Linked DNA regions of Homo sapiens: regions 2 and 3 are each linked to region 1. Evidence: promoter capture Hi-C in human tissues and cell types (Jung and others, 2019). All regions are on one chromosome and are shown on one strand. Each heading gives the region's core, a stretch centred on a gene start or on the middle of the fragment in contact. The rest is flanking DNA. Distances are from core to core; before and after follow the strand shown. Region 1 holds the start of LRRTM2 (leucine rich repeat transmembrane neuronal 2). Region 2 overlaps CTNNA1-AS1 (CTNNA1 antisense RNA 1). Region 3 overlaps SIL1 (SIL1 nucleotide exchange factor).

What was found. Contacts are between HindIII fragments. The study calls those that stand out against the background at their distance.
Region 2: a fragment that was not itself captured here is called in contact with the fragment with the promoter of LRRTM2 in region 1 in 1 of the 25 tissues and cell types used here (IMR-90 fibroblasts).
Region 3: a fragment that was not itself captured here is called in contact with the fragment with the promoter of LRRTM2 in region 1 in 2 of the 25 tissues and cell types used here (hippocampus and mesenchymal stem cells).

What each region holds. Positions count from the first base shown.
Region 1 is chr5:138,873,950-138,877,872 of GRCh38, forward strand. It overlaps LRRTM2 (leucine rich repeat transmembrane neuronal 2), which reads right to left and starts at 1,386. Exons shown (of 2, transcript NM_015564.3): 1 at 959-1,386; 2 at 1-607. The coding sequence starts at 962. All of the region lies in intron 7 of CTNNA1 (catenin alpha 1), which reads left to right. The HindIII fragment of the contact is 3,441 bases long and covers 1-1,720 here.
Region 2 is chr5:138,745,178-138,748,608 of GRCh38, forward strand. The region is part of intron 1 of CTNNA1-AS1 (CTNNA1 antisense RNA 1); the gene reads right to left. Among named protein-coding and RNA genes, the nearest start is that of CTNNA1, 6.5 kb to the right of the region's middle. The HindIII fragment of the contact is 3,336 bases long and covers 452-3,431 here.
Region 3 is chr5:139,125,493-139,128,859 of GRCh38, forward strand. It overlaps SIL1 (SIL1 nucleotide exchange factor), which reads right to left. Exons shown (of 10, transcript NM_022464.5): 2 at 2,247-2,361. The coding sequence starts at 2,351. Among named protein-coding and RNA genes, the nearest start is that of SIL1, 71 kb to the right of the region's middle. The HindIII fragment of the contact is 3,859 bases long and covers 1-3,230 here.

The DNA of each region.
Region 1 (3,923 bases), core at 136-2,635:
AATCCTGCAAATCCATTGCGAGCCAAACTTCGCAAACGATTTGTGCTCAAATCCAGAAACTCCAGACTACGACAGTCCCAGAACAGGCGTACTGGGATAGTCCGCAGGGAGTTGGAACGTAAATGCAAGGTCTGCAGCTTCCGAAGGCCATAGAAGAGCTCTGGGTGCAGAGATGACAGCTGATTAAAAGACAGGTCCAAATTTTGCAGGTTAATCAGTTGGGTAAAAGTTGTGTTTGGCAAGTAAAATATTTTGTTGGAACTTAAGATTAATTCCTTAAGTTTATATAGTCCTTGAAAAGCATCTTCTTTTACTGTTGAAATTTGATTGTGATCTAAGTGGAGCCAAGTAAGTTGACTGAAGCTGGCAAATTGATCTCTTTCGAGCTCTGTGATGTGATTGTGCCTCAGGGACAGGCCCAGAGAGCCCTTGTCTGTGGCGTTTGGCACTGAGTGGAAGCCCTGAGAGTCGCAGTAGAAGAGCAGCTTCTCGCAGCGGCATTTGGGTGGACACGCCATACCCAGGGCAGGCAGCATTTTTAAAACCATACTCATTGCATATATTGCTGCCAGCATAGGGGCCCCTAATGGCCACTTGAAATGTAAGCCTGCAGAATATAATTTAAGGAAAACAAGAAGATAGGATATTTTTCAGCAGAACATATGGGCTATTTAAAAAAAACAACCACCACCAACATTATAGCAAAAGATTTCACTGCATATAACTTATTTTTCATTTACTGCAGAAAAATTAACCTTATTGGTATGACTGGACCAAAACTTAAGCCATTTAAAAAGAAGATAAAACATGTCTCTGTCATCATCGATATATGCTTTTACCTAAACCTCAAAATCCAAAATATGATGGTGATTTCCCTCATAAAATGTGAATTCGGTAGCTTATTTTAAAAGCGTGATTCCTTGTTGAATGTACAAGACATATAAATGCACAGACTTACCCATTCTTCTGAGCACATTGGAGGCTGCATTCAGTCGCGGTTGTTAGACTCAACGCAGTGAGTCTGTAAAAGGCTCTAACATGTAGGAGCCTTTGACCAGTTTCCTGTTTTCTGTGTCCCAGGCTTTCCAAGTAAAATTGAATCCACCAGGACGAGTTGTTTTTTCCTTAGGATATCCCTCTGGAAAGCATTGGTTTCATTTTCTGTGATTGCTCTGATCCCTAAATCAGTTTTGAATATAAGTTATTAAATTTCTCCACCTCTAACTGCTCAGCTGGTTAATCAAAGCTTCAGTCTCCTTTCCGCAGCCGTTAGTTCTCTTGGTCTTAACTTGTTGATGGCAGATGGGTGGCTTGTTGCAGAGAAGAGCTCCTGGAGCAGCATGAGTGCATTTACTGAAAAGCTTTTCCGAGAAACGGCACAAGAATGGATTTGCTTATGTGCTGCGACCACACAGAACTGTATATAGGCTGACGTCACCGGATGACGTGTCTTTTGTTTGGGTTTTCCAGAAGCTTTACTGTTATAAAGCACCATGCTTTGTAACAGCATCGGGGTCGTTGCAGGACCCCCTGATTACAATAAAGCGAGAAAGAAGAACTCCTGACTTAAAAACATGATATTCCTTCAGTGTAGGAAGCAGCAGTGAGGTTGTAATAAAGGCTGCATTCAAGAAGACCCATCTGAACAGTGAGTTGGGTTAGCAGAGTGATGATTTTTAATGCTTGTGAGAGCCAGTGTTAGACTGCCGATTCTGCATAGAGAGATCATCTAAATGGGCAGAAGCCTGCACAATTTATGAAGTGCTGATTTAACACCAGCCTATGCAAGGTAGTGTCGCTGCACTGGTAGTTTGGAAAGCTATTCAGTTGCCTTGTTGTCATGCTTGGTTAAAATCAAAGTATGACTATGATTTGCTTTAGATGTGTTGATAAACTAGCTAAGTGGGCTTGGCTTGTTTGTCATCAAGAGCTTAACATTATAAACGAAGAATAAAGGGGGAGGGGAAGCTTGCAAAACAAAGCATGTGGTTATTTTTTTCTTTGAGAATTTCAGGGGAACTCTAAAAAGATTTCTCTTTCTCCTATTTTATAACAATGTTTTGTCGCCATACTGATTGAAAAAATAATGCTGAGTTGATCTTTAAATGTCCTCCTGGGAGGACAAGGCAGGTTGATACAGTCATTTTAATGCACATGCCCTAACAGCAAAGCAGAGATGATTTAGGACAAGTGATACCGTGTAGCTGGATTCTGACATGGCCCCTTGTATTTTACCTCAGAATCTCACCTACTCCATAACTAAAAGCCTCCGCTGGTACTGAGGTTGGTGGTTGTGACACTGAAATAATAGAGCATTTGCACCCTAGTTCCCAGCCACCAAGTGGCTGACTTAACTGAGCCTACTGCTGTTGTTAGAACCTGTCTTGTGAATACAAAAGGTCACTCATGCTTTGGACTGGGATTTTTGTTTTGACTTGATTTTGCTTGCCCTAACTCCAGTTTCTCCCTGTTGAATGGTGTCTTCACTTTTCAGACCTCAGTTGTGGATGTATAGCTCCATGTTTAGTGTTATATAAATGCAAAAGATGTTTCTAGATGTTATATTTTCAGGCCTGACAAAGGTAAGCCCTTTTCTACATCTTGCCTTATTGATTTGACCCAACATACCTATTTCTCCCATATCATTGGCACTTACCCTTTGTGGGTCTTGTCTCAGACCTAAGGACAGACATCTTTAAAACTACTGATGGTGTCTGTGAAACAAGAACATCGTTGGCCTTTTTGGTTCTGAGGGATTCATCCCACTGGGCAGATCTAAGAAGTAATTGTCTTGGGTAAAATTTTTCTGTTGTAGTGTTGTGCTGGAGTGAGAGCTGTGAGACTCCAAGGTCCCTTCCTTAGGGCTCTGTGTAAAGGTGCTATGAAAACTGCAGCAGTGCAGGTGTGTGGTTTGAGTCCTCCTAGAAGTGATCCCAAGGTAGAATTAGAAGTACAAGAGGCAAAAATGCCTACGAAGTACAAAGGGAGACAGAAGGCAGCAGGAATGCTCTGAGAGTCTTCGTACCACAGGGCAGGTCTGACACCTGTGAAGGGACAGAGGAAGCAAAGAAGATGAGATTGGCATTGTGGTTCTTAGACACATTTTGTAGGCTGAATGGAAATTCCCAAGCCAAAGTTGCCAGTGAACAGACTCTTGAGTCCTTAGTAATGAGCCTGCACTAGTACGTCCTCTTTGTTCCTTCTTGCTGGTTAAAGAAGGGAAGGAAACAAGTCCTGGTTTAGACCCGGGGAATGCTACTCCCCCTCTGACCTTAATCCTTCCTATAGTCTCTCTCAATAGGCTAGAACTTCTTAACCTGGTTCCATAAACTGTCTTGTGAAATTTTTTTGCTTGTTCATTTTTCTGTGGATAAGGTTGAGTCCGATTCCTACAGGGTCTCTCACCCTAGGTTTCAGAGCTGCTGTTCTACAGGAACTTGCCCCCAAAAGTTCTAAGGACAGTAGTCTCATAGGAGTGGTCTCTTAAATTTCTTTTTTTTTTTTTTTTTGAGACGGAGTCTCGCTCTGTCGCCCAGGCCGGACTGCGGACTGCAGTGGCGCAATCTCGGCTCACTGCAAGCTCCGCTTCCCGGGTTCACGCCATTCTCCTGCCTCAGCCTCCTGAGTAGCTGGGACTACAGGCGCCCGCCACCACGCCCGGCTAATTTTTTGTATTTTTAGTAGAGACGGGGTTTCACCTTGTTAGCCAGGATGGTCTCGATCACCTGACCTCATGATCCACCCGCCTCGGCCTCCCAAAGTGCTGGGATTACAGGCGTGAGCCACCGCGCCCGGCCAAATTTCTTAAATGAAAATAAGCCCTTGGGATGTTGTAAATGCCCTTATTGAAGTCAGCTACCCTCTGATGAAAAAAACCCTTTGCCACGCAGGAGAAGCTGGATTAAACTCTTCTCTCAAGTAAC
Region 2 (3,431 bases), core at 870-3,369, 130 kb before region 1:
CTGAAATTCTAACAGGAATAAGACAGAAGAAAAGCAATAAATTATATACCATATATGACTATTTTAAATTTTAAATATGTATTAAATATATATTTTTAAAATATGATTTTATATATCAGGAGGGTGATATAAGCTAAGGAAAACACTGAACAAGGAAGAGGGGGGTGAGATGTTGAGAAACGGGTTGCAATTCTGAATAAGGTGGCCAAGCGGAAGCCTCACTGAGAAGGTGCCTGGCAGAGGTGAGGGAGCAAGTCAGGCAGCTATTTGGAGGAGAGCATTCCAGGCAGGAAGCAAACGCCCTAAGGCAAGAGCCTACTTGATAGCAAAGAGGACACTGTGTCAGAGAAGAGTATCGGGGCAAGTGAGGCCCTTATAAGGCCCTCACTTCTCTGTACTTTGAGTGAGATGGGAGCCACTGGAGGGTCTGGGTGGAGCAGGAGTGACATGCTTGGACTTTTTTTTTTTTTTTAGACGGAGTCTCGCTCTGTCGCCCAGGCTGGAGTGCAGTGGTGCGATCTGGGCTCACTGCAAGATCTGCCTCCCTGGTTCACGCCATTTTCCTGCCTCAGCCTCCCAAGTAGCTGGGACTACAGGTGCCCGCCACCACGCCTGGCTAATTTTTTGTATTTTAGTAGAGACGGGGTTTCACCGTGTTAGCCAGGATGGTCTCCATCTCCTGACCTCGTGATCCGCCCGCCTCAGCCTTCCAAAGTGCTAGGATTACAGGCATGAGCCACTGTGCCTGGCCACTTGGACTTACTTTCTAACAAGATCACTCAGGCTGCTGAACTTAAACTAGACTGAGGGAGGCAAGTGCAGAAGTAGGGAGACCAGTTGGGCTCCCCTGGCAAAATTGAGGCTAAGAGATGATGGTGGCTTGATTCAGGATGGTAACAATGGTGATAGTAAAAAGTTAGTGGCTTCTGGGCCTGGTGCGTTGGCTCATGCCTGTAATCCCCGCACTTTGGGAGGCCGAGGTGGGTGGATTGCTTGAGGTTAGGAGTTCGAGACCAGCCTGGCCAACACAGCGAAACCCCGTCTCTACTGAAAAAAATACAAAAATTGCTGGGTGTGGTGGCGGGCACCTGTAATCCCAGCTAATCGGGAGGTTGAGGCAGGAGAACTGCTTGAACCTGGGAGGTGGAGGTTGCAGTGAGCCGAGATTGCGCCACTGCACTCCAGCCTGGGTGACAGAGTGAGACTCCGTCTCAAAAAAAAAAAAAAAAAAGTTAGTGGGTTCTGACTCTATTTCGAAGGCAGAAGTACAGGGTCTAAGGAATCAGATTTGAAATGCATGCAAGAAATAAAATAGCCAAGGATAACGCCAAGGTTTTTGGCCTCAGCCATGGCCAAAATGAGAGGATGGAGTTGCCATCTAAGGAAATTAAGAAAACTATGGGATAAGTAGGTTTGGACAGTGGTATTAGGAAATCAGTTTTGGACATACAGACATATAAAGTTTGAGATGGGCTGGGCATGGTGGCTCATGCCATTTAATTTCTGTAATCCTTTGGGAGGCCAAGGCAGGAGGATCACTTGAGCTCGGAGTTTGAGACCTGCCTGGGGAAGATAGCAAGACCTCATCTCTACTAAAAAAAAAAAAAAAAAAAAAAAAAGCTGTGCGTGGCAGCACATACCTGTAGTCCCAGCTACTTGGGAGGCTGAGGATCATTTGAGTCTGGGAGATCAAGGCTTCATTGAGCTATGATCAAACCACTGTATTCCAACCTAGGTGATGGAGTGAGACCCTGGCTCAAAAATAAGATAAAGTTTGAGATGCCTAGATGCCTATTGGCTATCTAAGTGGAAACATCAAGTAGGGAGCTGGATAAGTGAGCTGCAAATTCAGGGGAAAGGTTCAGGTTAGGGATATATACCTGGAGTTGTCAGCATATTTCAAGTCAAAAGACTGGCATCAATGGGTTAATGACAGCTATTAGTAGAAAAAGAAGTCCAAGGACAGAGCCCTGGGACACTTTAACAGAAATTTATAACTTCAGGCTGGAGTGCACTGCAAACTCCGCCTCTCGGGTTCAAGTGATTCTCCTACCTCAGCCTCTGGAGTAGCTGGGATTATAGGCATGTGCCACCACACCCAGCTAATTTTTTTTTTTTTTTTTTTTTGAGACAGAGTTTTGCTCTTGTCGCCCAGGCTGGGGTGCAATGGTGTGATCTTGGCTCACTGAAACCTCTGCCTACCAGGTTCAAGCGATTTTCCTGCCTCAGCCTCCCAAGTAGCTGGGACTACAGGCATGTACCACTATGCCCAGCTAACTTTGTATTTTTAAGGAGATGGGGTTTCACCATGTCTGGTCTCGAACTCCTGACCTCAGGTAATCTGCACACCTCTGCCTCCCAAAGTGCTGGGATTACAGGCATGAGCCACCACGCCTGGCCATAATTTTTGTATTTTTAGTAGAGATGGGGTTTCACCATGTTGTTCAGGCTGGTCTCGAACTCCCAACCTTGGGTGATCCACCCGCCTCGGCCTCCCAAAGTGCTGGGATTACAGGTGTGAGCCACCGCACCCAGCCAAAGTTTTTAACTTTTTTTGATCTCAAGACTCCTTTACACTATAAAAAATTTGAAGATCTCAAAGAACTCTTGCTTATGAAAGTTTTATCTATCAATATTTACTATAGGCCTGGCAGGGTGGCTCACACCTGTAATCTCAACACTTTGGGAGGCTGAGGCAGCAGGATCACTGAGGCTTGGAGTTCAAAACCAGCTTGGTCAACAGAGTGAGACCCCTGTTTCTACAAAAGAAAAATTTAAAAATTAACCACACGTGGTGGTGTGCATCTGTAGTCCCAGCTACTGGGGAGGCTGAGGTGGAAGGATTGCTTGCACCTGGGAGATCAAGGCTACACTGAGCTATGATAGCACCACTGCACTCCAGCCTGGGCAACAGAGCAAGACCCTGTATTAGAAATTAAAATAAACAATTTCAAAATATTTATTAATTCATTAAAAAATAACAATAGCAAGTCCATTACATCTTATCAATAAATAACATTTTTGAAAAGAAAAATAACCATGTTTTCTAAAACAAAAGAAAAATTCAGGGAGAACTGTTGTTGTTTTGCATTTTTACAAATCTCTATCTGACTTAATAAAAGATAGCTGGATTCTCATATGTGCTTTCACATTGCATGTGATGCCACATCATACATCATTTAGCCTGTGGAATACTCTACTGTACACCCGGGAGAAAATGAGCATAAAAAAGCAAATGATATTTTAGAATTATTGTGAAAATAGTTTTTACCACATTACTCCCTGAAAAGTTATCAGTGATGTCCAGACTATACTTTGAGAATCCCTGCTCTAACATTTAGAGGTTAGGAGGAATTAGAAGTCATCATCAATGGAGACTAAGAAGCTTAGCCAGGAAGGCTGGATGGAAATCAGGAAAGCCTGGTGCCCTG
Region 3 (3,367 bases), core at 51-2,550, 250 kb after region 1:
CGTTTTGGGACAGAAGCCTGCTTGACACAGCCCAAATTAAACCATAGAAGCAGCATCCCCATACTAAAAAACAACAGCTGACATTCATTAACCATTTATTGGCCATATTGTGCCAGTTTCAATGCCAGGTGCTTTATATATAATCATATTTAATCTACACTAAAACCTTAAGAGGGAGGTACCAACCCTGTTTTACAGATTAGGAAACAAAGCTCAGAAAGGGTCAAATTGCCAAAGTGGGAGGCAAAAGGGATCTTACGAAGGGCCTGTGCGCCTTCCACAAGGCTCCACTACTGTACCCGCCTCATTGTTTACCACCTTTTTCAAGGCCAGTAACACACAACCACAGCCCTTCAGCATCTACACGCCTCCTGAGATGTGGCATCCCGGGGAAGTACCACAGCAGGAGCCAGGAAGGAAAGCTGGCTCCAGATCATACTGTGATACACACAGCCGGCCTTTCCTGGGTGGGCATTAACCTGCCCCAATGCCTTTGGGGAGGACAATTCTAGGTCATCAGGAGCACTTACCTGGACTCCAGGCTCTGAAGAAAGGATCATAACCACCTCCACCCCATTTTCACTGTTGTGAAGGTGGCTGGCTGCATAATTTAGATTTTAAATGACATCAGGGCAGCAATTTTTATGGTATGAGAGAAAAGATGCTTCAACTCCTACTTGTGCTTAGCACATGATGAAAGATTATGACAAATGGATACAGCTTAGGAACAGACATAAGGATAAAAGCAGCTTCTGTTGATGAAAGTCAGTATTAACATTTTTCTGAGACTAGACTCAATAGAGCTAATATAAATGGGCCAGAATAATTATGCTCTGAAAGCTCATCTATTTGGTTGGACTATTATCCAAAAGGGACTTCCTAACTCGGTCCTTAAGTAAATTCATCAGCATGCCTTTGTTAATTGTGCATCTGCTAAAGCTCACGATGGGGAGCATGGCATCCTCATGAGGTACAAGTTGGGGAGGGGACACAGCCCTGGGCCCTGAAGGTTCTTTTCTGGGCCATTCCACCGCCAACCCATGCCAGAGACAGCCCCAACCTCACGCTGTAGCCAGTCCCATTCTCAGGGGCCCCTGGGATCCCATTCTTACTGTCCTTGAAGAAGAGGCAAATAAACAGCACCAACAGGATCTCAGAGGGCATTAAAAACTCAAAAGGACTCGTGACTCCTAACTGTATGTTTTCCCCTGCTCCACGAAGTGGGGGGAAAGGCAGAGAGGAAACAAATGATTTCAGAGAGAAGGTGGAAGCTTGCCATGAGCCAGAGGTGAACCACAGCTAAGCTGGATTGTTATTAAATTCATCACAATTGTCATTTGCACTTCAAGGACCTCCCGCTCCAGAGCTTCCAGCGCTTTATCCAACATTTAGTGGGAGCCCTGGGGGTTGGGGAAGGTGGCCAGGGGAGGGTGAAACTGTCAAATAACTGACAGTGGGAGCTTATCAAGGGAGAGGAGAGGGAGGGCATTAGGAGCTGGTCAAGGGCAGGCTGTTGCTGGGACAAGCCAAGTAAACAGGGCCAGGAACCGTAGTGTGCTGCAGCCAGGCCAAGCTCAGGGCCTTTCTGGGCATTCTCCTCCTGCCAGTGGCAATGGCAGAAGCCCTGAGCAGTAAGCTCTAGGTTAATGAAGTGTGGCCCAGAAAGAACAGGGAGCTACAGACAAAAGGAAGGAGGATACAGAGATGGAGATGAACTGAGAAAGTACAAGGGAGAGAGGAGTAGAGGAAGAAAAAGAGTCTTACTTGGAACTGATGCCCACCACACAGGCACTCAGCTTTTGGGAAGAATCCTGACATTCACAGCTCTCACAAACTGGCTGTGTGATTTTGGCCAAGTTACTTAATGTCTCTGAGTCTTAGTCTTCTCCTCAAAAGGAGAATAAAAACTGTAGCTGCCTACTTCATAGTGTTGTTGGGAGGATTAAATGAGAATACATATAAAGCACTCACTACAAGGTTTGGTAAATGGAAGATTATAATTATGAATTTATCATCATCATCATATTTTCCCCAAAGGGAAACTGTGTCATAAGCTTTAAACAGAGGCCAGAAGACACAGGGATGGGGAGGAAGAAGTCTACCTACTCCATGATCCACTGCCAGCCACACTCACATAAGAAAGAAACATAGAAGCCCACACCCTACTCCCACAACAGCCCTGGTGACAGGGAGGCCTTCTCAAGACCTCATCAAGGGTCCCTCCCATTTACAATAAAGATATTTACCAGGTTCTGATGACTGAGGCAGAAGGTGAAGCAGGCGGCCATCAGCAGCCCAAGCAGCATGCCCAGAGGAGCCATCCTAGATGAAGGCAGGCTCTGGGGAGCCATAGTCAGGGACCTGCAGGTGCAAGCATAGACAACAGAAGGTCAATGAAAAGCTAATGCTTGGTTCCCCCGCACTGTGATTCCCATGTCGTCACTTGCTCACATGTCAGACATTTCCTGCATAGAGGTATAACGAGTCTTCTACCACTTCTAGATAATTCTGAAGCCTCCATCTACCATGGTGGGTCCAGCCATCCAACAAGAGATATGCCCTGGGTAGAACCATACAGTCGATCAGGACTCCTGCATAAGCTATTACAGCCCTAGTCCCTTCCTTCTTCATTAGAACTTGTTATCAGGTTGTGGCGGGTGGTCTTGACTATAAGGAGAGAGGGAAACTAACCAACTGATCTGCATGTGAACAAACATGGGCACAAATCCACATAAGCCTTTATAACCACCCACTTCTAAAACACACCCATTATCCTACCTGAAGACAGATGGCATCAATATCCTCTAAGACAGCAAAGTTCGATATTCCCAAGTCACAAAACCTCTCACATCAGCTTTCAAACAGTCAAACAAATAAAAGTACAAGCCCCAGTAGCTATTAAAAGGACAGGCAAAGGTGGGAGGATCACTTGAGGCCAGAAGTTCACGACCAGCCTGAACAACACAGTGAGACCCTGTCTCCACAAAAAATTAAAAAAACAAAAAAATTAGCTAGGCATGGTGGTGTGAGCCTGTAGTCCCAACTATGTGGAAGGCTGAGGCAGGAAGACCACTTAAGCCCCAGAGGATGAGGCTGTAGTGATCCATGACTGCACTACTACAGTCCAGCCTGGGTGACAGAATGAGACCCCATCCCTCCAAAAAAAAAAAAAAAATTAAAAGAATATAAGGATGGAAGGACATCCCATGTTCATGAATTAGAGACTTCATACTGTTAACAACAGTACTACCCAAAGCAACATACAGATTCAGAGCAATCTCTGTTAAAATCCCAATGGAGAAACTCATCCCTAAAACTCATATGACATTTCGGGGGACCCAGAATAGCCAAAACAATCTTAAAAATG